Linked DNA regions of Homo sapiens: region 1 is linked to region 2. Evidence: promoter capture Hi-C in human tissues and cell types (Jung and others, 2019). All regions are on one chromosome and are shown on one strand. The core of a region is centred on a gene start or on the middle of the fragment in contact, and the rest is flanking DNA. Distances in the headings are between cores, read along the strand shown.

Evidence for each region. Contacts are between HindIII fragments. The study calls those that stand out against the background at their distance.
Region 1: a fragment that was not itself captured here is called in contact with the fragment with the promoter of SIAH3 in region 2 in 1 of the 25 tissues and cell types used here (dorsolateral prefrontal cortex).

The regions. Positions count from the first base shown.
Region 1 is chr13:46,315,885-46,323,491 of GRCh38, reverse strand. LOC105370194 (a long non-coding RNA gene) reads left to right here and starts at 1,733. Exons shown (of 3, transcript XR_941946.4): 1 at 1,733-1,884; 2 at 6,269-6,447. RefSeq lists enhancers at 1,997-2,496, 3,554-4,102. The HindIII fragment of the contact is 6,042 bases long and covers 1,169-7,210 here.
Region 2 is chr13:45,847,888-45,855,394 of GRCh38, reverse strand. It overlaps SIAH3 (siah E3 ubiquitin protein ligase family member 3), which reads left to right and starts at 3,642. Exons shown (of 2, transcript NM_198849.3): 1 at 3,642-3,900. The coding sequence starts at 3,766. RefSeq lists an enhancer at 4,533-5,070. The HindIII fragment of the contact is 6,525 bases long and covers 1,182-7,507 here.

The sequences.
Region 1 (7,607 bases), core at 2,940-5,439, 470 kb before region 2:
CTTGCATGTTTTCTTCCTACTTTTTGAGCTTCAAAGTTCTGCCTGTGCTGCAATGAGATACCACTGTACACCCTCTCAAAGGTCCCCAACTTAAAAGACTGATGATACCAAATGCTGGCGAGGATCTGGAGCAATAGGAACTCATGCATCGCTGGTGGAAATATGAAATGGCACAAACACTTTGGGAAACAGTTGGTCATACACTCACCATATGACCTAGAAATTCCACTCCTGCATATTTATCCAAAAGAACTGGAAAAAAAACCCCAAAGTCCATTAACAGAATGAATAAACCAATCTTGTTATATTCATACAATAGGATACTACTGGAAATAAAAAGAACAAACTGCTGATAAATCCAAAAGCCAGAAGCAAAAAAGAACATGCTGTATGAATCCATCTACATGAAATTCTATAATAGGCAAATCAATAGTGAAAGAAATCACATCTTGTTGTAATCACACTCTAAACCGTAAAATTGGATACTCTAATTATATACAATTTATTCCCCCACAAATCTTCATGATGTCCATGTGGATTTCCAAGTGACTTTTTTTCAGAAACCACACACAGAACTTTAAAATCAACTGTATTGAAGTATAACTTGTATAGAATAAAATATAACCATTTTAAGTGTATTGTCTGATGAAGTTTTGACAAAGATATACATCCATGTGTACTCCCCAGTTAAGATATAGAACATTTAGTTGTTTTTTTTTTTTTTTTTTTTTTTTTTTGCGACAGTCTCACTCTGTTACCCAGAGTGGAGTGCAGTGGCGAGATCTTGGCTCACTGCAACCTCCACCTCCCAGGTTGAAGCAATTCTTGTGCCTGAGCCTCCCGAGTAGCTGGGATTACAGTCGCCTGCCACCATGCCCGGCTAATTTTTGTATTTTTAGTAGAGATGGGGTTTTGCCATGTTGGCCAGACTGGTCACGAACTCCTGACCTCAAGTGATCCGCCTGCCTCGGCCTCCCAAAGTGCTGGGATTACAGGTGTGAGCCACCGCGCCTGGCAATATAGAACATTTCTGTCATCTAGCAAACAAAGTCCTAACTGGAACCCCAGAGGATCTCGTTAAAGAAGCAGGACTAAACTAAGTTAGGCTGTGGGTTCCATCCATAGTGCCCTCTTTCTACACACACACAGTTGCCCCGACAGTTACCCACACCCTGCATCCCTAATTTCTACCCACAAACGGCTGGGTACAGTGGCTCACGCCTGTAATCCCAGCACTTTAGGAGGCCGAGGCGGGCAGATCACCTGAGGTCAGGAGTTCGAGACCAGTCTGGCCAACATGGTGAAAGCCAGTCTGTACTAAAAATACAAAAAAGCCGGGTGTGGTGGCAGGCTCCTGTAATCTCAGCTACTCGGGAGGCTGAGGCAAGAGAATCGCTTGAACCCGGGAGGTGGAGGTTGCAGTGAGCGGAAATCGCACCACTGTGCTTCAGCCAGGGTAACAGAGTGAGACTCCATCTTGGGGGGAAGAAAAAGAAAAAGTAGTAGTAACCACACCACGTATTGCATAGGGGTGTTGTGAGGGTTAAATTAGGTAACGTGTGTGATATTTGTAGATCAGCACCTAACACTTCGTAAGCCCTCAATTAAACATTAATCATTATCTGAGTGTTGCTACAATTTTGTAATTTCAAGGTACTGTGGGTCTCAGATCTGCCCACGAGAGGGCACTGGTGACACAGCTTTGCCTCAAAAGGTTTCCAGTTGAAAGACCAGGCAGCTTTGCTTGTGTCTAAGGAACTAAGGGTCCGATTTCTCATGAGCTGCTGAACCACAGATTTTAGAGCTGAAAGACACCCTGCAAGTGATCTAATCCAGTCATCAGATGTTGCAGTTATAAGCCATAGGCGGGTAAATGTGGACCTGGTGAGTACGACTTACAAAACCAACAGTCACAGGAAAAGCAACTTCACATGCGTTCTCTGTGGAGTTGAAAGGTAGGACAGAAACGCCATCTTTCTGGGAATAAAAACGCACCAAAAGTGTTAACAGCGTGCCAGGCTGAAATGAAAAGAAGGCACTGAGGTGTATATATGTGTGTATCTGTGTGTGTGTGTGTGAGAAAACCAGAGAGAGAAGAGAGAGGTCATGTAGATTTTTTTTTTAGATGAAAACAACGGATACTGGTTCTTTCTTCTAGATCAGCTCAGGAGACCAAAATATTCAAGATTTTCTTTGACAGGCTGAGCCTGAGAATGTCTTCCACACCCTTTCTCTGCTAAGGGGGAACTGTCCTACTTGCAGCCCCTGCAACTCAGCAGCCTGTTGGGTCCCTTCCCCTCCTCTCCAACCACACCTGACCCCAGGGGTCCCAGGCCTTAAGCTGGCCTGGGACATTCATCTCATCACCTGGTGTGAAAGATGCGTTGGGCCAGTCAGATCCTTGCTTTTCAAGATCTAAAGGATCAGAAGACAGGGTGGCGAGCAGCAGGAGCACAGAGTAAAACTTCAAGGAGCAGAAAGGCCCCAGGGTGACCTGGTGGCCTCACACAGGCCAGCGCATGAGGTAGCTGGCCTAGCTGTTGGAGCCATAGAGGAGAATAAGCCCACTGCAAGAAGCAGAAGGGCTGCTAGCCGAGAGGAGACTGGATGCCCCTGGAAGAACTGAAGGAGGTAGCAGGGTGCCTAGTGCATACCTCATTCCCCTTTTTGAAGCAAGTTGTTTGGGTCTCTAGTTCCCCACAACTAAATTCTGTAGAGAAAATTTTGAAAGTGTGATCAGATTGGAAACCACGTGGCAAAGGCAACACTGCGTTTATGTACAGACATCTCATTGTAAGAGAGCCTGCAGGGGTGTGTGTGGAGAGGGAAGAGAACAGGAGATGCTGCTGCTGCTCCTCCTCCTCCTTCCCCTCTTCATTGTCCTTTTTCTCTTCCTTTTCCCTCCTTCTCTTCCTCCTCTTCCTTGTCTTCTTTCCCCTCCTCCTCCCTTCTTGTCTTTTTCTTCCTCCTTCTCCGCCTCCTCTTCCTCTCCCTCCCCCTCTTCTTTCTTGTCTTCCTCCTCCTCCTGTTTCTTGTCTTTTTCCTTCTCTTCCTCTTTCTTATCTCCTTCCTTCCTCCTCCTTTTTCTTTTTTTTTTTTTTTTTTGTTTTGAGACGGAGTCTTGCTCTGTCGCCCAGGCTGGAGTGCAGTGGCCCCATCTGGTCTCACTACAAGCTCCGCCTCCCGGGTTCACGCCATTCTCCTGCCTCAGCCTCCCGAGTAGCTGGGACTACAGGCGCCCGCCACCACGCCCTGCAAATTTTTTTTTTTTTTTTTTTTTTTTTTTGTAGAGACGGGGTTTCACCATGGTAGCCAGGATGGTCTTCATCTCCTGACCTCGTGATCCGCCCGCCTTGGCCTCCCAAAGTGCTGGGATTATAGGCGTGAGCCACTGTCCCGGCCTCTTCCTCCTTTTTCTTCTGCTTCCCCTCTTCTTCCTTAGCTCTAAGAGGAATTAGAAAAAACTTTTTACTTTAAAATCATTTCATAATTAGAGAAAGTTGCAAAAGTAGTACAGAAAATTCCCATACCCTTTTGCTTAGATTCCCCAAATGTTGACATTTCTATGATTAAGGAAATTGTGACATATTTGTGCAATGCAATACAAACCGTAATTAGCCACATTAGCTAATACAAACCCTAATGAGCATATGGCTAATTAGCATAAGGCTAATTAGGGTTTGTATTCTATTGTACAAATTTTAACATTTGACAAATGTTAAAAACAAACTTGAGCAAAAGAGTCAAATCATGGAAGACGTTCATTAGTGATCACTTAACATAAATTTCACAGACAAAGCCAAGCATTACGTTGTTTACACTAGAGATCTACCCATAGGTGGTAGAAACGTTTTTTGTTTTTGTTTTTCAAAGCAAGTGAATGATGAACATAATGCAACATAGTGGTTGTCACAGATGGAGGGTGGGAGACAGGATCAGGGAGAGGTACTCCAGACCTTTGAAGGTACTGCTGATATTCTTTATTATTGACTGATTTGTTTTTAATTTAAAAAATACACATAATAGTATATATTTTGGGGGCACATAATGATGCGATACATGTAATATATAGTGATCAGATCAGGGTTAATAAGCATATCCATCATCTCAAACATTTATTATTTCTTTGTGTTGGGAACATTTAATATCATCCTAGCTATGTGAAACAATATTGTTAACTACAGTGATTCTACAATGGTATAGAACACTAGAGCTTGTTCTTCCTGTATAGCTGTAGTTTTGCATCCTTTAACAAATCTCTTCCCATCACTCCCTTATCTCTACTTCTCCCAGCTATTAGTATTCTCTGTTCTGCTTTCTACTTCTGTAAGATCAACATTTTAAGCTTCCACACATGAGTGAGAACATGTGGTATTTAACTTTCTGTTTCTGGCTTATTTCACTTAATATAATGTCCCCCAGTTCCACCTATGTTGCCACAAATGACAGGATTTCATCCTTTTTATGGCTGAATAGTATTCCATTACGTATATGTGCCATATTTTCTTTATCTGCTGTTGTACACCTGATTGATTCCATATCTTGGCTGTTGTGAAAAGTGCTGTAATAAACATGGAAGTGCACATGTCTCATCAATATACTGATTTCCTTTCCTTTGAATAAATACCCAGTAGTGAGACTGCTGGATCATATGGTGGTTCTGTTTGTAGTTTTTTGAGGAACCTCTACACTGTTCTCCACAGTGGTTGGACTAGTTTACACTCCCACCAACAGTGTATATGAGTTCCATTTTCACCTCATCCTCAACAGCATTTGTTATTTTCTGTCTTTTTAATAATAGTTATCCTAACTGGGGTGAGATGATGCTTCACTGTGAGTTTGATATGCATTTCCCTCATCAGGGAAATTAGTGATGTTAAACATTTTTTCATATATTTGTTGGCCATTTGTATGCCTTTTGAGCAAATGTCTGTTGAGATCATTTACTCATTTATTAATTGAATTGTTTAGTTGAATTAGATGAATTTTTGCTGTTCAGATGTTTGAGTTACTTGTATCTTCTGGATATTAACCCCTGTCGATGAATAGTTTGCAAATATTATATCCCATTCTGTAGACTGTCTCTTCACTCTGTTGATTGTTTCCTTTTCTATGCAGAAGCTTTTTAGTGTAACATAATCTCTGGTGTTTATTCTTGCTTTTGTTGCCTGTGCTTTTGAGATCTTATTCATATAATCTTTTCCCAGATCAATGTCCTGAAGTGGTTCCCCATTGTTTATTCTAGTAGTTTTATAGTTTCAGGTCTTCCATTTAGGTCTTTGATCCATTTTGAGTTGATATTTATATAGGGTGATAGGTAGGATTCTAGTTTTTCTTCTGCATGTGGATATTCTGTTTTCCCAGAACAATTTGTTGAAGAGACTGTCCTTTCCTTAGTCAATGTTCTTGGTACTTTTGTCAAAAATCCACTGGCTGTAGATACATGGATTGATTTCCAGGTTCTTTATTCTATTCCATTGGTCTATGTGTCTGTTGTTACACCAGTACTATGTTGTTTTGTTGCTACAGCTTAGTAGCATAGTTTGAAATCTGGTAGTATGATGTCTCCAGCTTTGTTCATTTTGTTCAGGATTGCTTTGGTTATTCAGAGTCTTTTGTGGTTCCATACAAATTTTAGAATTTTTTTCTCTATTTCTGTAAAGAATGTCATTGATATTTTGATAGGGATTGCATTGAATCTTTAAATTGCTTTGGGTAGTACAAATGTTCACATTCGTGTGAACTTCTCTATGTGTGTGTATGTGTGTGTGTGCATATTTGTACTTCTGAGATGTGTGAGTCTAGGATGCAGAAATGAAGTTTCTTTACCTCCAAATATTTTTATATTTCAATGGGTATTTCTGAAAGATAAGGATATTCTTTTACACAGTGAGACTTCAGTGATCAAAATCAGAAAATTAACATTGATATGATAGTATTATGTTTTTAAAAATATATACATTATTCAAAATTTGCCACTTGTGTTCTAATTCAAAATTTGCCACTTCTAATTCAAAATCACACATTGCATTTTTTGTCATAACCCTTTAATCTCCTTTAATGTGGGTCAAATCCTTGATTTTTCTTTCTTTCATGATTCTGAGAGATGAGTTATTTTGTAGTAGATCCTTCAATCTGGGTTTTCCTGATGTTTCCTCATGGTGGCAATCATGTTATATTCTTGGAAGGAACCTCATAGAAGTGAGGCTGTATCCTTTTATGCACAGGGAGACACAGCTTCTTAAATTCTCTCATCTTTCTCCTGCAGGGAAAATGCAGACCAACACCTTGCTGGAGTGCAAAGAGCCCCTAGCCAATTCCTAGGCCTTTGAGAAAACCTGGAAAAATTAACACTTGAAATAAATTTTGAAGAACAAGGAAAAGTTATTGACCTAAAGGCTGACAGGGAGGAATTCTGGAAGGAAGGAACAGCTCACTTGCTTGGAGGTGAGAACATGTGTTGTGTTGGGAACATAGTGGTCTTGTGTGTGGCCTTTGCAGGTACCTGGACACATCATACTCTCTCACATTCTTGGCTCTGCTCATTCCTGGGCTCCCTCTGCCTGGTACCACTTCCTCCACCTCTTACCTTCTCTTCCTTTTTCTGGATAATTTTACTCAGCCTTTAGAACTCAGTGGAAGTATTTTCCTCCTCTTGTTGCCAGTGAATGGTGAAGATCACATGTTTGGAGTCCAGTGGGCCTACGTTCAAATCCTGCTCCTGCCATTTTGGCAAGTGAATGATCTTGGGCAAATTATTTAACCTCTTTGAGACCCAGTTCCCTTTTTGGACAAATGAGAGGTTATATCTGATGGATATATAATGTTTATGTCCCCTGAAAATTCATATGTTATACCCACAAGGCAATGGTCACAAGCCAATTCCCAGGAAGTGAAGTCATTGGTAGGTGATTATGAGATGAGTGTGCTTTTAATGGAAGTTCTAGAGAGCTGCCTTGCCCATTTATATCACCATGTGAGGACACAGCTAGAAAGCAACATGTTTGAGCCAGGAAATGGGCCCTCACCCAACATGGAATCTGCCAGTGCCTTGATCTTGGACTTCCAAGCCTCCAGAACTGTGAGAAATAAATGTTTCTTGCTTATAAGTCACCCCATCTATGGTATTTATTATAGCAGCCCAAACAGACTAAGACACCCTCTGCTTATCACAGGCATGGTTAGTCTAAACAGGTACCTCCTTCTCAGGACCTGTGACCCCTCAAGGGGTCCCCTTGTATTCTAAGAGTTTCTGGGCCTGACTTCTCCTGCTTTTATCTTCTTCTAGGTTTCTACACCTGTGTGTGCCATCATGCTTTGGCCCTGTATCAGATACAGGCATGAGGCTCATCTCTGTCACCATTCCCAAAAAAGGAATATAAACATACCATTTGTGAGTTTAGGAAGCTCACTGCCGATGTGAAATCCCATGAGAAGAGACCACGTGGCCCACTGCCTAGCCTCCTGCCCACCTGGGGCCAGTGTGTTTGTCCCCTCACACAATGCTGCCTCTTGAAGTTTATGCATGCTACCATTCAGGCTTACTTACCTATCTGAACTCCCATTCATTCGTGGAAGCTGAAGACTAGGAGTCAGAGTTGGATCAG
Region 2 (7,507 bases), core at 2,393-4,892:
CTGGGTAATATCAGGAACATTTACCCTTCTAAGTATATTGCACTTAGAAAAAGTTTATTTCTATTATAATAGAAATAATTGTCTATTATTCCCATGTCATAGTTGTGGGAACTGAGCCTTGGTGAGGTTAAGATAACTGGCTGAGGTTATAATAAAGGAAAAAAGCTATATAATAATGGGTTTGCTCCAAGTACACAAGGCTGGTTCAACATTTAAAAGTCAATTAATGTAATTAATTACATCGACACGCTAAGGAAATAAAATCACCTGATCATATTAATAGATGTAGAAAAAGCATTTGACAAAATCCAACACCCATTCATAATAAAAACTCTCAGTAAAGTAGGAGTAGAAGGGAATTTCTTCAACTTGATAAATAATAACTACAATAAACCTACAGCCAACATCATATTTAATGGTGAGAAAATAGAAGCTTTCCCACTAAGATCAGGAACAAGGCAAGGATGTCCTCTCTCACCATTTCTTTTCAATATTGCACTGGAAGTTCTAGCTAATGCAATAAGACAAGAAAAGGAAATAAAAGATATACAGATTGAGAAAAAAGAAATAAAACTACCTTTGTTTACAGATGACATGATTGTTTATGTAGAAAATTCAGAAGAATCAACAAAAATACTTCAAACTAATAAATGATCATAGCAAAGGTGTAGAATACAAGGTTAACACATAAAAAGTCAATTGATTTCCTGTAAGTAAACAATTACCAAGTAGAATTTGAAATTAAAAACACAATACTATTTACATTAGCACCCAAGAAGACATAGTTGTAAATCTAACAATTTTTCAACAAATGGTGCTGAAACTGGACCATCTGTATGCAGATTTAAAAAAGGAATCTAGACACAGATCTTACACAATTCACAAAAATTAACTTGAAAGTAACCAAGATATCCTTCCATAGATGAACAGATAAATAAACTGTGGTCACCCAATGGGATACTATTCAGTGTTAAAAACATATGAGCTATCAAGTCATGAATAGACATGGATATTAAATGCATGTTACTAAGTGAAAGAAGCCAGTTCAAAAAGACTACATACTATATGGCTCCAATTACGTGACATTTTGAAAAAGGCAAAACTATGGCATAGACAGCATAAAAATCAGTGGTTGCCAAGAGCTGGGGGAGGTTGGTGGGATGGGATGAATAAGCAGAACACGGAGGATATTTAGAGCAGTGAAAATACTCTGTATGTTACTCTAACAATGGATTTGGGTCATTTGACATTTGTTCAAACCCGTAGAATGTACAACACCAAGAGTGAGCCTAGTATAAACTATGAACTCTGGATGATGGTGATGCGTCAATGTGGGTTCATTAATTGTAACAAATGCACCCCTATAGTGGGGGGGTGTTGATAATAGGGGAGGTGGTGCAGGTGTGGGGGTAGGGGCAAAATGAGGTATTTCTGTACTTTCCTCTCAATTTTGCTGTGAACCTAAAACTACTCTAAAAACATTAGGTCTTTAATTTCTTAAAAATCAAGATAAAATTAAAGGAGCATTGATTTTTATATCTTAAGCACAAGCATGAGATTATCAACACAAAGTTATAGATCTTTGACCTATTTGCTGGCATCCTTATTTTGTGTACAATCATTTTATTTTAAAAATACCTTTCCAAAAAAAAAAAAAAAACAGCAGAAATCCCCATTCTCATGGAACTTACTTCTAGCAGGATGACGGAAACAATACATCTTTAAAAAGTAAAGAAAAATGAAACAAAACAGAACAAAAAATCAACACAATCGTTCCACTAGAGCCAAAGATGTAAAAATAATTTGAACCTTTCTAAATTATGAATATATCTTTAAGGAATCTATGAGAGTATCTGCACACTTTTAGTTTTTAAAACAAGTAAGCCAATGAAAGGACATTAAATGTTTTCCCAATGAACTGCTGAAAGCTTATTTTCTGGACAATTCAAACTTTAGAAAGCAGATTCTGGTTTTGTGGGCCAGCAACCTTTATTATATGCCATGTAACAAGTGGCTCCAGGGACTCAGGTCCTATAAAAATATCACATTGATGAGGTTCTAATCAGTTCAAATGTTGTCATCTTCTAGTTTGGTGCCAGTGTCGTTATTTTAAAAGTGCAAAGTTTCCATGTTTAATTGGTGTTCAGCTTGTCTCTTAAAACATTGGTTTGGTTTTAAATGCAAGTTAAAATGAACAGCCTGGGCTCTGTCCTGGCATCAATAAACTTGTGCATTATTTTTATCCCGTATGTTATTCTGTTGTTAGTTTAACTGCCTGACCAGGTCACAGACCTAGGTGTTCCACGTGTGCATATGTTTTGCATACATTACAACCCAAGCATTGTAGCCAGAGCAGAACAAGAGCCATGAGGGAGGGGGCTCACACTCACAGGGTACAATTCACAGTGGGGGCTGATCCTGCTCCAGGCAGCACTGGATCTGGCCTGACTTCTCAAGAGAGAAACAACCAGGGAAGAGGGAAAACACAATACACTGAACTCCCCTGCTTTAGCTGCAAAGACTAAACCATCAGAGCTAGTCCCGAAAAACCCAAAACCCTTCAAGTACTGCTTAGGAATCTTTCTTCAAGAACCAGCGGCCTCCCGCCCACCCACCAGCCCTGTTCTGGGGAGCAAGGACAGGTTTGCAGTCTGAGGACTGGAATGCCCTCTGCCTGTGCCAGCACAGAAATGTGCTGCTAGCATTTGCAGAAACAAGTAAATGATGTGGTATGTGCATCCTTAATCTCTATTTTAATGTCTCCAGCAATCTAGTGGTTAATTAGCAATTTGCTGCCCACCAATATGCAAATGAATGACAAGCAAAGGTTCTCTGCATCTGTAATTATTTTGCTGATTTACAAGCCTCTTTCCTCTCAGTGTAGGTTTTTCTGTGTGTGTGCATTCATGCATCAGGGATTTCATTATTTTTTGAAGCATACTCTGTGCATTTTTATCCTTTAATACTTTCAGACTTCAGTAATCACAGTATTTTGAAAAAAAGAAAATATATATATATGTATAGTAATATATATGTATGTGCTTCCCTCCACCCCTCAACTCCAAATGAATTTGTCAGGGATTCTTTTCTTTGATAAAGAGTGGAGAGTAAGATTTATCAAGGGGCTGTAATCCAAATTGCAGAAAGTCAGAACGCAAGATTGAAAGATACACATTTTTGCTGCTGCCAAGTCCTTATCTGGATTCAGAGTCTAGTAATATTTTATTTTCTCCCAAGCAGCTCTGGTGAGTCGAGCCATGATCTGCGTTATCCATCTGCCTACTTTGGAGCGGGGTGTTGTACTATTTGGCGGCTTAAACGCTTTACGTTCTTGCCAGGGCATTAAGAAAGGCTCTCATGTTAAATTAAGTCAATTAATAAATGGAGACACATTAAGCAATCAATTTTGTCAGCCTATCTCCCCAGCATTAGGTATGGTTGGCTGTAATCACAAGATAAATGCAATGTGCTGATCTATGGTAATGTTCAATAATACATTCTCCGCCAGGCTCAATTCATCAGGGAGTTTCGGTAGGGAAGGCATTTGTTATTGGCTGTCTCTGCACCTCAAGGATAACATTTCTGTCCTTTTGATTGGCCGCCTCACTGCTGCAAGATTCTAACCGTCTTATTTTGATGATGAATATGAAGGCGCGCTAAGCCGGGCTGGAGCGGAGTGTCTCAGAGGCTGCGCTCCTTCCAGGGCCCAAGGACTCACAGCTTCCTCCGCTGCCTTCCCGGACCAACAACCCCCCAAAAGTTGTGATGCTTTTCTTTACCCAGTGCTTTGGGGCTGTATTAGATCTCATTCATCTCCGGTTTCAGCACTACAAGGCTAAACGGGTTTTCTCCGCTGCCGGGCAACTTGTCTGTGTCGTCAACCCCACACACAACCTAAAGGTGAGTCTCTGTGTCATTTTACCTTCACCGGGCTCAGGTTCAAGTCCTTTCTCGGAGGCGGCAGCGACCCTCCGGCGAACGTGTGCAGCCCTTTGCAAACCCGGGTCTCGGGGGCTGGGACGGTGTCTGGAACCCGGCGTGTTTGCCTCGGCTCACTCTCGCTCTCTAGGTGATTGGGTGCTGTTAGTGACCGAGTGTTGTTTCCCCAGCTGGCAGGAAAAGCTGGATTGATGGTCTGATGTCTTTCCCCGACGCTGTCAACCTGAGAGTGGCGTGGGGGGCAGAAGTGAGGGTGGTGGAGGGAACAGGGGGGCGTCCCCATCACTCCCCCTACTATTTGTGGGCAAGTGCTCAGGAGACAGGATTTGAAGTTAGCCAAATTCTCTCTGTCCCATGTGTTGGGAGAGGTGGTCAAACACGAGGATTTTAGAAGCTACTGGGGGGTGAGGAATCCTGAAACAGGGACTTGGACGTCGGTGGGGTGGGGGGAGGGTTCTTTCTGCAAAGTGTTTGTCCTTGTCCTCAGACTCGTGTGTGTGTGTGTGTGTGTGTGTGTGTGTGTGTGTGTGTGTGTGGTGTCGGGAGGATTTTGGCTTATTTCCTTCCTGCTGGTTAGATGCGCTCTGTGTACTGGAGCAGGATTTGCCTGGCTTGTGTAATAATGACACCAGCTTCTAGCTGCTGCCGCCGCTGCCTGGAGCACCCTAGGCAGCTGGGTGCTGGGTTGCTCGCGGCTGCCTAGCTGCCCCGGGGCCTCTGCATTTGTACCCTCAGGTCAGTGCCCTTTTAGAGACCAGACAAAATATGGGGTCCGGCAGAGCCGCTTAACATCACAGCCAAGACTGACTGGGAAAGGAATGATGGGCCACTGGTTAGGGGTAGTAGGGAGGAGGGGAAGTCAGGGAGGTGGGGGCTGGGGAGAGGGTGCAGCTGAACTCCCCGGATGGGAAACTCAGCACCTTGCCTCTCTCCTAACATAAAAGATGGACTCATTGGAAGTTCCTTTCCTGTACTCCTGTGTAAGGCAGGCAGGACTGAGTGCCGGGGGAGGGGCCGTGTCTGTAGCGACAGTGCCTGACAGTCTCTGTGAGGATAGATCTGTCCCTCTGACCACTGCTGTTGGGCAGGAAGAGCATTGCCTGTTGTCCATTACTTTATAAACTCCCACGGCCGGACTGTCCTCAGCTGGAGCCCCGCAGGTCAGCGCTGATGGGTGCCCCCACTCCTAGAAGTTCCGCCGAAAGACAGCTGCCTGGAGCTGCTGGGGTTACATGCCAAGGCCAGTCCTGGGGGAGGGGCGATGGACTATCCTGGGACCCCTATGGTGCATCTGACCTAGGATCTGACTCTCTCTGATATCCCAGCTGTGACGAATGCCATCGCATGCAACCGTTCACACCTGCTCTTGCTTGCGCGCTCTTGCCTCTCATTCCACTATTTCTTTTTTTCTTTTATAGCTTAGTTTTATAAATGAGAATTTACTACCAGTCATCCTTGGCAAAGCAAGTATGTAGTATGCACATTAAAATAAAATTCTGAATTCCATTTTATGGCCACTTTTGAGACTGCATTCAAACTTCCATTATTTTTTCCACTTTGGATTAGTTAGTTCCCTGGGGCAAGAAATTTTGTTTACTTCTGTTTTGTATTTTAATACCTTTAAAAATTGCTTATGAGACTTTAGCATTTCTGAAGTTTGCATTTATATGGTTCATTGACTGCAGCTGATGATGGAGAATAGAGAGGTGTTAAGGTCTCTGTGTGGAGTGAGGGGAAACCACTTGTGTATATTTCTCAATGATGTCTGCCTGGATTTTGACAAGTCGTCTTGCTGCCCTGACCCAGGAGTTCAGAGTCAGGGTTGGAGGCCTTGAGTCATCTCTGGCCAGCTGTGTGAACTTGAACTCCTCCTCCACCTCTTTGAGACTTCCCTTCCTCACCTTTTAAATGGGCTGATGAACATCTGCCCTTTCTCCGCCTCAGCTTTTGAGACTGAAAAGAGGTATCAGAGGTGTTTCATAACTCTCCTCTAAAAATAATGTATGTTATTGTATATATAATTTGTAGAGTTCCAATAGCAAATTCAAAAGTTGTCACTTAACACCTTCAGGCAATTTAGAAATTGTATAATCAGCAACATAAAAATGGATGACGTATGCTTTGAGAGGACATAGCTCACTTTTTCACTTACACTCTTATTTGGCTTTTCATTTCGCACACAAAAAAACCACTTATGGATTTTGCTCAGAGGAACATCACCCCAGATAAACAAAGCAAGTTGAGTGCTGCTAATGCCCCCTCAGGATTAGGCACACAGGATTTGGAGAGGGCGCCAGGTAGGGAGAGACCTGGAGGGTCCAGGTGGCCCATCAGGTAAGTTTCACTCCCTTCTCAAACCTAAGGGCTAATAGCCATTTGCAGAGCTTTAAAAGGACTAACTCCATAGGAGTGTCACTGCCCCATTGCTTGTATAAAAAGCACATGTAACCTCAAAAAAATTCTCCTTCTAAACGCTGATTTCCATAAACAGACCACGGAAATATGCCTTGGACGTAATAAGCTGTGATCTATGTAATGAGGAGGAAAGTCCTTCTTTTGTTAAAGGAAAAAAATAAAACCTGTGGCAGTATTAACCCAGAATAGCTATTGATCTGCCGTGCTTCCCCACATTTTGTATGACAGGCCAGTATATGAAATGGTGACCAAGGACAGAGAGACTGCAACCTTGCTTTCAATTTTATGGGTTGCGTGTAGCTACAAAGAGGGCTGGGAAGCTTGTGTTTTTCCTTGTGGAAGCATTTATGTGTTTTATCCTTTCCTGGGCTTTCCTGAGAATTCGAACCAACAGCATTTTAGAAACTGAGGCAAGTGCTGAGTTATAATCAAAATTCACTTACCAAGCAAAGAAAATTGTGTATTTACCATGCTTCTATAGGTCACCTTCATTCTCAATCTTATTATGGTGATTACTCAGTAACCTGGGATTCCTTCGAGCAAGCTGATGCCTTTCCTTCTAAATGGAAGGCAGAGCCTTCCTGGGGACATCAGATCCTCTGGTTAAAGCCATTACACCCCTGAAGCTCACCCTAATTAAAAGGGACATTTAGAGTAGCCAGCCTTGAACATAAGAGACCTCAGCTTTCAGTGAGTGCCAGGCAGTGGAGTGCAAACAAGACCATTTCCCTCAGTCTCTGCCTGTCTCTGTCTCTGAGGACCACTTGCACAGATTAGGGTTCCAAATGGTGCCCCCACTTCTTTCCACCCCATGAAAAGTGACCGTCAAGGAGCCAGCTCTCTTGGCCAGCTGCCCTCTGCTTCCTCATTCACAGAGGTTATTGAAATGTGACGAGCAGACTTCAGGCTGGCGCTCATGAGGGCGCCTGCTCCTGGTCCTGATTCAGCACTCCTCTCTCCCTCCTGTCCTTTGCTTGTTTCTAAACCAAGAAAGCCTTTCTCTCCTGGCTCCACTCCCATTGGCGCCAGCTGCTTCTACAGCGCCCTGCCCTGGGCAGCCCTGCCTTCTTTTGCCCCATCTGCAGAGGTGCCCTTTGAGGGGAGGAGCGGTCAGTCCCTGTGCCCAGGTTTTTCCAGAGAAGGCTCTGTAGTG